4 separate regions of the Homo sapiens genome follow, and all the other regions are linked to region 2. The links are contacts of gene promoters, found by promoter capture Hi-C in blood cells and fetal thymus (Javierre and others, 2016). All regions are on one chromosome and are shown on one strand. The core of a region is centred on a gene start or on the middle of the fragment in contact, and the rest is flanking DNA. Distances in the headings are between cores, read along the strand shown. Region 1 overlaps LOC124905183 (a long non-coding RNA gene). Region 2 holds the start of INE1 (inactivation escape 1). Region 3 holds the start of SYN1 (synapsin I). Region 4 has its middle 17 kb from the start of UXT.

The links. The method cuts DNA at HindIII sites, captures the fragments that hold promoters and counts their contacts. A CHiCAGO score of 5 or more calls a contact.
Region 1: a contact is called between a fragment that was not itself captured here and the fragment with the promoter of INE1 in region 2, in 13 of 17 cell types (naive CD4 T cells, fetal thymus, activated CD4 T cells and 10 more). The highest score is 8.7, in naive CD4 T cells.
Region 3: the fragment with the promoter of SYN1 here is called in contact with the fragment with the promoter of INE1 in region 2 in 5 of 17 cell types (total CD4 T cells, non-activated CD4 T cells, naive CD8 T cells and 2 more); the score reaches 6.6 in total CD4 T cells.
Region 4: a fragment that was not itself captured here is called in contact with the fragment with the promoter of INE1 in region 2 in 1 of 17 cell types (activated CD4 T cells); the score reaches 5.2 in activated CD4 T cells.

The regions. Positions count from the first base shown.
Region 1 is chrX:47,504,054-47,506,753 of GRCh38, forward strand. The region is part of intron 1 of LOC124905183 (a long non-coding RNA gene); the gene reads right to left. Among named protein-coding and RNA genes, the nearest start is that of ZNF41, 22 kb to the left of the region's middle. The HindIII fragment of the contact is 1,739 bases long and covers 452-2,190 here.
Region 2 is chrX:47,203,398-47,206,097 of GRCh38, forward strand. It overlaps INE1 (inactivation escape 1), which reads left to right and starts at 1,451. Exons shown (of 1, transcript NR_024616.1): 1 at 1,451-2,464. UBA1 (ubiquitin like modifier activating enzyme 1) reads left to right here. Exons shown (of 26, transcript NM_003334.4): 14 at 144-299; 15 at 2,551-2,700. It overlaps LOC105373194 (a long non-coding RNA gene), which reads right to left. Exons shown (of 3, transcript XR_949047.4): 3 at 871-1,953. The HindIII fragment of the contact is 2,713 bases long and covers 1,395-2,700 here.
Region 3 is chrX:47,618,591-47,621,290 of GRCh38, forward strand. SYN1 (synapsin I) reads right to left here and starts at 1,267. Exons shown (of 13, transcript NM_006950.3): 1 at 762-1,267. The coding sequence starts at 1,138. RefSeq lists silencers at 1,280-1,574, 1,281-1,490. The HindIII fragment of the contact is 11,977 bases long and covers 128-2,700 here.
Region 4 is chrX:47,674,471-47,677,170 of GRCh38, forward strand. No RefSeq gene overlaps it. Among named protein-coding and RNA genes, the nearest start is that of UXT, 17 kb to the left of the region's middle. The HindIII fragment of the contact is 2,187 bases long and covers 336-2,522 here.

The sequences.
Region 1 (2,700 bases), core at 71-2,570, 300 kb after region 2:
ATTAAGGGTGGATCTGCCTTTTCCAGCCCACTGACTCAAATGTTAATCTGTTTTGGGCAACACCCACACAGACACACCCAGGATTAATATTTTGTATCCCTCAATCCAATCAAGTTGACAACTCAGTATTAACCATCACAGGGGGTCTCACTATGTTGGCCAGGCTGCCCTCCAACCCCTGGGTTCAAGCAATCCTGCTGCCTTGGCCTCCCAGAGTGCTGGGATTACAGGTGTGAGCCACTGTGCCCCACCTGGAATTTGTTTTAACTGGCTAAATCCAGGACCCCTGGAGGGTATAAGTGAGGTTAAATCTGCAGGGTGGTCTCACCTGGCTGCATGGGGTCCTACTGATAATTTTGCTGTGAAGATGCCAGGACCAAGGGGTGGACTAAGCAGAAGGGGGTTAACATAGCAGTCCTGTAACTATTGTCCTTTGAAAGTCCTGCTTACAAGCTTGGCCCTTGGCTGGCAATTAGGAACTTGGATTTCGGGAGTATTCCCAGAATTCCTTAACTGATAAGGATGGCTTACTCTTCCCAACCTGTTTGTGCAAACAGTGGTTTCTGCTGATCACCGGCTTTCATTCTGGGAGCCTGGAATTTTGGTAAGCACTAGGTAGAGGGTGCCTAGTGACCAGCCCCCAGTGAAACCTTTGGGCACCAAACCTCTAATGGGCTTCCCTGGGGAGAAGCATTATACATGTGTTCCTGGATTTTTGTTGCTAGAAGGACAGCTCTGTGCAAGCCTCCTGCGAGGGGGAGACAGCATGAGGAGGCCTGTGTACAGCATCCTTCACATTCTGCCTGTGTCTTTTTACCTTGACGATTCTGTCACATATCCTTTTGCTGTCATAAACCTTAGCTGTGAGGACAATTATATGCTATGCTCAGTGCTATGAGTTCTTCCAGCAAGTCACTGAACATGGGGGGTGGCCCTGGGACCCCCCAACAGAATGGGATAAATTAATAATTATGAGATATTCCAATTCTATCATCCCTGCGTCTATGAGAACCTGTAATTTTGTTGTGAGAGAAATGGAATGCAGGCCGGGTGTGGTGGCTCATGCCTATAATCCCTGTACTTTGGGAGGCTGAGGCGGGTGGATCACCTGAGGTCAGGAGTTTGAGACCAGCCTGGCCAACATGATGAAACCCCGTCTCAACTAAAAATACAAAAAATTAGTCAGGCATGGTGGCGGCTGCCTGTAATCCCAGCTACTCGGGAGGCTGAGGCAGGAGAATCGCTTGAGCCCGGGAGGCGGAGGTTACAGTTAGCTGAGATCACGCCACTGCACTCCAGCCTGAGTGACAGAGCGAGACTCCGTCTCAAAAAAAAAAAAAAAAAAAAAAAGAAATGGAATACAGATACAATATAAAAGAGAGCTTAAGGAAAAAAAAAACCTATATTCCTGAATTTGAGTTGGACATATCAATATGATCTCACAACAGTTTATTTTTAAAAAGAATGTGCACACACACACACACACACACACACACACACACACTTCATAGCTCTGTCTGCTGAAGAGGCCTACAAACAACGACCAACACAGCAGTAATGAGCAACCCTGGCACCCAAATTGTGGCCTTGACATTCCATTTCCCATGAAAAGGAATCAGTACCAGATCTGGTACTGGAAATGTACAAGATAATCCTGGAATCTTGTCATAAGAGCCGATAGTGAGAAAGCTGTTAATATCTATTAGGGTCAAGTCAAAAGGGTGTGGGAGCCAACTCCAGGAGTCTCTCACGGGCCGCAGATGAGATAATTTGAGCTTCAAGAAGTTAATAAATGCAATTTGACTGAAACCTGCCTAATATGCTTAAATTCATGAGTTCACAATGATCTTTTTAAAAATAGTTACCTTTGGGGAATGATAGGGAACCAAATCATTTTCTTGAAAACTGATAAAGGGACAAAGAATAAAGCATTTATGTTGCCTTTCCTAAATAAACTGTAGTATCAGTAACCAAATGATAAATGAACAAAAGCATCTCTATAAAAGTGTTGCAATTAATAAATGAAAAAGAATTGTTGGTTGGAATTTGTATATCACCATTTTGCAACCACCAATCAATTTCATGGATCTTCTAGGCATTGAAGCATCTCAGCTGCTAACATCACAAGAGTGACAACCAGACATTCTGTGCCCCCTGATGAGAGCACATGTAGTCTTGCTAAAGGAATTAAGCTTGAACCAGATCTGGCCCCTGCATTGACCTGCCAATTTGCAGGAAACATGGAGTACAGAGAAATATATTGCCATGCACATGCAATCACCCAAATCCAGGCTGTGAAAAATCCAGATTTGAGTGAGGACCTTGAAAGTAAAAGAGACTTAAAAAACAAATCATTTTTTTTTCATGAGCAAGACTAACATGTAATGTTTGAGGATGTACACTTGGGTGATATAAAGAAATGCAAGGAAGTAATTACTATAAAGTCAAGGTCAAGGTTGGTGAGTTGAAATTGGATGGGGCTTCTGGGTTGGCTGGCAGAGTTCTTTCTTGAATTTGGTGGTTGTTACTAAGGTGTTTGCCTTGTAAGAACCAGTTAAGCTACACTTTGGTGTTACACGGCTTTATGTAGCTATATTTTATTTTACTTTAATAAAAATAAAGTCCTGAGCTATTACTGTTTTTTTCCTTATGGTAGAAAATATTTATTTCAAATGCCCAGTCATGGCTAGGCGCAGTGGC
Region 2 (2,700 bases), core at 201-2,700:
GTCATTTCTTAGAGTCCTGCAACCTGAAGATGTGGTGTTAGCCCCTCTCCCCGTCTCTCAGGGGAGTGAGGGGTGATGGGTAGCTTCACACTAACCTGCATCACCCTGACCAGCCTCTGCCTGTCTTCTTGGTTGCTTCTTAGGTGGGTGCGGGGGCCATTGGCTGTGAGCTGCTCAAGAACTTTGCCATGATTGGGCTGGGCTGCGGGGAGGGTGGAGAAATCATCGTTACAGACATGGACACCATTGAGAAGTCAAATCTGAATCGACAGTTTCTTTTCCGGCCCTGGGATGTCACGGTGAGTAGGGTAGGAGGTTGGGGCTTTGTCGTCTCACTTTCCTCCTTTTTCTTTTTTTTTTTTTTTTTGAGACGGAGTTTCGCTCTTGTTGCCCAGGCTGTAGTGCAGTGGCGTGATCTCTGGCCCACCACAACCTCTGCCTCCTGGGTTCAAGCGATTCTCCTGCCTCAGCCTCCTGAGTAGCTGGGACTACAGGCATGCGCCACCACGCCCGGCTGATTTTGCATTTTAAGTAGAGACAGGGTTTCTCCATGTTGGTCAGGCTGGTCTCGAATTCCCGACCTCAGGTGATCTGCCTGCTTCAGCCTCCCAAAGTGTTGGTATTACAGGCGTGAGCCACCACACCTCACCCCTCCTTTTTCTTGTTCCCATTCTTTCTGTCAGAGATCTTTCTGCCTCTGCCAGAAGCCCTTCTTTTTGGCCTTTCTTTCCCTCAGCTTCTGTTTTTTTTTTTTTTTTTTTTTTTTTTTTGCCTTAACCTCTTTTTAGTGCTGGTTGGGACAGTGTGTCTGGGGTCCTCAAAACTACTCTCAAGCTCAATTCACCTAGAGTACTTACAGGACTCAGCATATAGTCGTGCTTGTGGCTACAATTTATTACAGCAAAAGGATACAGACCAAAATCAGCAAAGGGAAAAGGCTGGTGCAAGTTTCTAGGAGTCTTCTCCCAGCGGGAGTTAAACAAGGCGGCCTTTATTTCCCCAGTAGCAACAGTAACTACAGAAATAACAGCAACAAGGTGTAACAAGACATGAAATGTTGCCAACCAGGGAAGCTTGTTAGACTCAGCACCACCTCTTTTACTTGGGGCTGGTCATGTAGGCGCCCCCTTCCTGGCACATAACAAAATTTCCAGACTCCCAGAAGGAAAGGTGTTCAGCGTAAACTGTATTGTTTGCATGAACGGTTTAGGCACAGTGAACCACTGATACCAGGTAGGGAGCGGTGGGAACCTTCCTGAATTCCAAGTTCCCAGACACCAGCCAAGGAGCCGACCTTGGAAGCAGGCCTTTCCAAGGGTTGTAGTTTCAGTCTCCTAGGCTTACACTTCTCTGCACATATGGAAACTGGGTTGGTTATGCAGGGTTCTCTGAGAAGCTTTCTGTAAGGAGCAGTGTCGTTTTTGCTTACCCAGGATTTATTCCCCCTTTCATTTATTTCATTTATTCACCAGATAGTTTTAGTACTGTTTTAGGTATTGGGGATATACCAAGGAATAAAACAAGATTCCTGGAGGGAGAGGGGAACGGACAGCAAACAATAGACACAATACGATCGTGAGGTATATAGTTAATGTTGGTGATGAGTGCTCCTCAAAGGAAACAACTAAAACCAGACAAGGGAAGTCGGGGTGTCAGGGAGAATGGTTTGTAGTATTGATGACAATGGTTAAGGAAGGCCTGAGTTCTGCAAAGACCTCAAGGATATGAGGGACTAGAGTGCCCTCTGCTGTGGAAGAGCCTGCGCAAAGATCCTGAGGTGGGAGGGGTCAGGGAGCCAACTCATTTTACGGTAAGTGGAGGTGGGATCCAGGGGAGGATTCTGAGCAGAGGAGGGACGTGGCCCAATTTGGGCTTTGAAAGGATCCTGCTTGTCTGTGTGCCAGCATCCTGGTGGTGGTTGGGGGAGTCTGCATCAATCCTGGGTGCTGTTACCTGAAAAAATAGCAGGTGTTAGACGAAAGAACAGATGTCTGGCCCATTGTCTCCAGTCTGTTCCTGTCCACAGCTTCCCTTTATGCTGAGCCCCTGCCACATGCATCATCATCCTGGCCATGTGGCATTGTCACAGACCGTCTCTCCTGCTAGCCTCCTAACTCAGGGCCTGGGTCTTCCCCAGCATTAAGTAAATCAGTCTCAGGCAGACAGCCCTTTATAGGTGTTTGGGCCAGGTGCGGTGGCTCACGCCTGTAATCCCAGCTCTTTGTGGGGCCGAGGTCTTTGAGCTCAGGAGTTCAAGACCAGCCTGGGCAGCATGACAAAACCCTGTCTCTACCAAAAATACAAAAATTAGCCACGCATGGTGGCACACACCTGTGGTCCCAGCTACTCGGGAGGCTGAGGTGGGAGGATCGCTGGAGCCTGGGAAGTTGAGGCTGCAGTGAGCCGTGATCATGCCACTGCATTCCAGCCTGTGTGATGGAGAGAGACCCTGTCTCAAAAAAAATAAAGATGTTTGTTGGGTGAATGCACAAATAAGTGAGCTTTGTTCCCCCATCCCCACCCTGGAACTGCACTTTCTTAACCCTTTAGAAGTTAAAGTCTGACACGGCTGCTGCAGCTGTGCGCCAAATGAATCCACATATCCGGGTGACAAGCCACCAGAACCGTGTGGGTCCTGACACGGAGCGCATCTATGATGACGATTTTTTCCAAAACCTAGATGGCGTGGCCAATGCCCTG
Region 3 (2,700 bases), core at 17-2,516, 420 kb after region 2:
CGGCACGTATCAGGCACTTAACAAATGCTTCCTAGATCCTTTGGAGAAAAGGCCCTCAGAGAGAGGGCTTGGAGTTGGGGCACAGAGAAGGCATCCAATCAAAACTCACAGGATCCATGAAAGGCAAAGCTTTTGGAGAGAAGCTGGGGTGGGATACACAGCAGGTACTCAATGTTTACTAAATAGTTTAAAAGGGCTTTAAGGACGGAGCTGGGGTGGGACACATAGCATAGACTGGACACATGCTCACAAGACCCATTAGAGAAGGCCTCAGGGCAAGGGTTGAGGAGAACAGGACAGTATCAGGCTCTCAAAGAATGCTCACAAACCTCATTGAAATCAAAGGCCTTGGGGAAGGGCTCTTGGATGAGGCATACTGCAGGTACTAGATAAGTGCTCACAAGATCCATTAGAGGACAAGGCCTATGGGGCAAGGGTTGGGGAGGGTAGGAAGGACACGTTCGGTTTTCGAAGGCTCATAGGATATATTGAAGCCAAAGACTTTTGGGGGAGGGGTAGTAGGGAACAGGTACGCAGCAGGTGCCTGATAATTGCTCCCTGGATCCATCAAGGTTTAAGGGGCGGAGGGGGGCGACAAGGGCGGGGCACAGAGGAAGCATCCAGCTTAATAATTTAAAGGAAAAAGATTTAGGTGAGAGGGCCAGGTGTCAGGCACACAAGCGGCGCTCGATAATTGCTCATTCGCAGAAGAACGATCTGGGGACCCAGGCCCACGGGAGACGTCCGCGGCAGTGGCTTACCAGTCGGTGTGCGGCTCGTCGATGACCAGCAGCACCCTGGAGGCGGCTCCCCCGCGGCCTGCGCCCCCAGAGCCGCCGCCCACCTGCTCGCTGAAGGTGGCAGCTGCCGCCGCCGTGGTCTGCTTGACCGCGTTGGACAGCGACGAGAAGAAGCCACCGCCCCCCGAGGACCCGGGGCTAGGGGCGGCCGGAGAGGCCGCTGGGGCGACCCCGGAGGACCTCTCGGCAGTGGCGGTCCCGGGACCGGGCGTGGCTCCGGGGCTGTGGGCACCGGGCGGCGGTGGGGGCGGCTGCGGACGCTGCAGGTCTGTCATGTACCCATTTGGCAGATTGGCCATAAAGTTGCTGTCCGACAGGCGGCGCCGCAGGTAGTTCATGGCTGCGACTTGGGGCAGGGGGTCCTAGGGGTGGTCTGGCCAGGAGCCGCGGGGGCGGACTGCGCGGTGCCCAGGAGCACAGCTGCGCTCTCAGGCACGACACGACTCCTCCGCTGCCCACCGCAGACTGAGGCAGCGCTGAGTCGCCGGCGCCGCAGCGCAGATGGTCGCGCCCGTGCCCCCCTATCTCGCGCCTCGCGTGGTGCGGTCCGGCTGGGCCGGCGGCGGCGCGGACGCGACCAAGGTGGCCGGGAAGGGGAGTTTGCGGGGGACCGGCGAGTGACGTCAGCGCGCCTTCAGTGCTGAGGCGGCGGTGGCGCGCGCCGCCAGGCGGGGGCGAAGGCACTGTCCGCGGTGCTGAAGCTGGCAGTGCGCACGCGCCTCGCCGCATCCTGTTTCCCCTCCCCCTCTCTGATAGGGGATGCGCAATTTGGGGAATGGGGGTTGGGTGCTTGTCCAGTGGGTCGGGGTCGGTCGTCAGGTAGGCACCCCCACCCCGCCTCATCCTGGTCCTAAAACCCACTTGCACTCATACGCAGGGCCCTCTGCAGATACTCGGTTTGTAGTGTTGATATTCAACTCAGAAGGCATTTTTTGGGGGGAGGGGGGCACTGGAAGCACACTCAGAGACACGAAAGTAGAGAAATAACCCCCTCACAGAGGGGGGTGAGGTCACACGCAGTGCCCGCGGGGAGATTAGTCTCCCACATCCACACAGGCTCAGCTAGGCAGAGAGCGGGGGCGTCACAGACAGCATCAGACAAGCGGAGGTGGACACTTGGGTGGTGTACACACCCTTGCCCAAGGTGGCAAGGGGGGCCTGGAGGCACACAAGAAATGACACACATATAAACACACACAAAAGTGAGGAAACATACGAGGGCATGTACAGACAGAACACACGCCAATCTAGGTATACATACAGACATACAAGTCCAGAGTAACACACATGGGCATGTTACATACATGCATGCATACACCCATACCCCCACACACACAGGTAACACACTGACACACAGAGACCCAGGGAAACTCATATGAGCATACACTTGCAGACAAAACACATTCCCACCGATGATCATGGAGAAACCTAGATCTGCAACACAGACATTCTCTGCAGCCCTAGCCCTGGTGCGTGTCCACCCCCACACCAGAACACACTTGGTATATACGCCACCATCCCTTTGCTCTGGACACCGCCAAAACTCACGATAACTACCTGATGTCATCAGTGCCCATGGCTGTCTCCCCCTGCACCCAAGAACTTTCCACAGAGGCAGGCCCATCCCATGGTGCACACACAGTAGGTACCAAATAATGTTTGCATATGAGCAAATGAGGTAGTCCAAGCAGAGGTGGGATATGGGAACCTGTCAAATCTTTATGATTCTGACTACAATAAAAGCACTAATTCATAATCATTTGTTCACTGATTGTACCCAACTCTTAACTAAGCTGTTTACATGCATCATTTCATCCAACCCTCACAACAATCCAGTGGGGTGGATAATATAATGTCTATTTTACAGATGAGGGAATACAAGAACTCCAGTTAATTCCCA
Region 4 (2,700 bases), core at 179-2,678, 470 kb after region 2:
CCTCCATAGACGCCAGCTGAGTTCTGCCCCATGTTGCTTTTCGCTGTGACACGGCAGCACTGAGTTCCAATGCAAAGTCCCACATTCACTGTGTTCTCCCTTCCTCAAGCACACAGATTCTCTCTCTGCACCACATGGCCACTGCCAGATGGTGAGGGAAGGGTAGTGTAGGTGATTCAAGACTGTCTTTCCTACCTTCTTTAGTGCCTCTTTCCTTAAAATAATATTAAAACCAAGTACTGTGACTGCTTACCTGCTTTTTGGTTCTTATGAAGGTGGTTTTCTGTGTGTGTAGTTGTTCAATTTGGTGTTCCTGTCGGGGGACAATCAGTGGAAGCTTCTATTTGGCCATCTTGCTCTGCTTCCAAGCCTCAGTAGTTTTTCTTGAATAACCACTTCCCAATTTGTTATATTACCTTGGTAAATTTCCAGAGTCTTTAACTGGTTGTTTTTGGCAATTTTGTCCACTTTTGTCATGGCGTTTTGTGGAGAGGATTGCCAAGCTCCTTAGTCAACCTTTCCAGATGTCTCTCCCTTCCTTGTAACTAGAGTTTTGATTGCATCACTTAAAAAGTGTTAGTATGTTTCACAAAAATGTGTACCAGTATGAATTAGCAGTATATTTATTTATTTATTTGTTTGTTTATTTTTTAAGACGGAGTCTTGCTCTGTTGCTCAGGCTGGAGTGCAGTGGCGCAATCTCGGCTTACTGCAACCTCCGCCTCCCTGGTTCAAGCCATTCTCCTGCCTCAGCCTCCCAAGTAGCTAGGATTACAGGCATGCACCACCACGCCTGGGCAATTTTTGTATTTTTAGTAGAGATGGGGTTTTGCCATATTGGCCAGGCTGGTTTCAAACTCCTGACCTCAGGTGATCCGCCCGCTTCAGCCTCCCAAAGTGCTGGGATTACAGGCGTGAGCCACTGCTCCCAGCCTTTGCCCATTTTTTAGTTGGGTTATTTATTTATTTTGTTTTAGCAAAGTGTAAGGGTTCTTTATGTGTACTTTTTGTGCCATATCTGAGAAACCATTAAGGGGCAGGATTTGAATACATATCTGGCTCCAGCATTCATGTTCTTAACCATTACACCACGCTGCCTGTCTTGAATTAGCAGTTTAGATATAAATGATTTATGTATGTCGTGACTTAGACTCTTGATTTATTCCAAACATGCTTAGTCACCATGCAGTATCTGTATTTTCACATGTGTATTTGTATATATGTGATGATTGTGACACATAAGAATGGTTATTGCATTATTCCCAACAATAGAAGATAATGGTTTGAAGCAGCAATAAGTGAGTACTATTATTGCTCTCCCTATTAATGGTGCCCTTATTTCAGTGATGACGTTCTCTGTCTTTTTTGCCTATCACTTTTGTTTAATATTCTTTCCTCACTTCTAGAAAAAAATGTGTTTCTTCTTTAATATCTGATATGGTTAATGACAGAGCAGGAGCACCGTCATCTTGGACAAACACCGCCACTCTAAGTTCAAGCTCCCTTTCTAGCCTCATGCATTTCAAGGAAATCACTTCTTTTCTAACTACAAGCAGCCAGAAAAGAGCAGACAGTAAAACACAGATAAGACAGCTCAGGCACAGAGGGAGGCGGGGGGGAAGTCTCCTGGGTAACTGCCGAACTTCACCCTCATACAATGGACCCCAGTGAAACAGTGGGCCTTACTAAGCACATTCCTTTCCCTTCAGGTGCACTAAGATAGGGAAGCTAAAAGTAGACTGGGGGGGTATGCCTGCAGCTGCAGGAAGATGTATGGGAACAGACACAAAACTCTCCCTCCCAGATAAGCAAAATGAAGAGACACAGAAGCAGTCCAAGCCTCTGATAAACTCTCCCACCCTAAATCTTTAAAAACTCTTAGTCTGTAAGAGAGTGGGCTCTGATCTAACTTGGCCAGAATCCCCTGTCAGGTTTGTTTTCTCTAAAATAAACCTGTCCTTGACTGTTGAGCCACCTTTCATGTTTCTTTCCTCTTTCTTTAATTCTTAGAATTAGGCTTTGTGTTCCCCACCCAAATCTTATCTTGAATTGTAATCCCCATAATCCCCACGTGTCAAGGGAGAGACCAGGTGGAGGTAATTGAATTGAATCATGGAGGCAGTTTCCTCCATGCTGTTTTCATGATAGTGAGTGAGTTCTCACGAGATCTGATGGTTTTATAAGGGGATCTTCCCCTTTCACTTGGCACTTCTCCTTCCTGCCGCCTCGTGAAGACAGTGCCTTGCTTCCCCTTTGCCTTCTGCCATAATTGCAAGTTTTCTGAGGCCTTCCCAGCCATGCTGAGCTGTGAGTTATTTAAACCTCTTTCCTTTATAAATCACCCAGTCTCAGGCAGTTCTTTATAGCAGCGTGAAAATGGACTAATACAATATCCCTCATAGCAGATGAAATATTGCATCCTTACCATGGACATCTGTGGTTAATCCATTGGTGTAACTTGACAAACATAGTCAGATGGTGTTTAAAATATATTCACACTTACATAAATAGACATCACTTTAAGCTTACTGCACTACTTATTTCTTAGTTACCTTACATTACGTAACAGGAATAATTTTTTTGTTTTATTTTTCTATAACCAACTGAAAGAATAAGTCATATCCCATTCTAGTATGTTCTGAAATTTTTTAAGGCTTTAATGTTAAAAGTTGTCATTCCTTTTCTTTTCTTTTCTCGTTT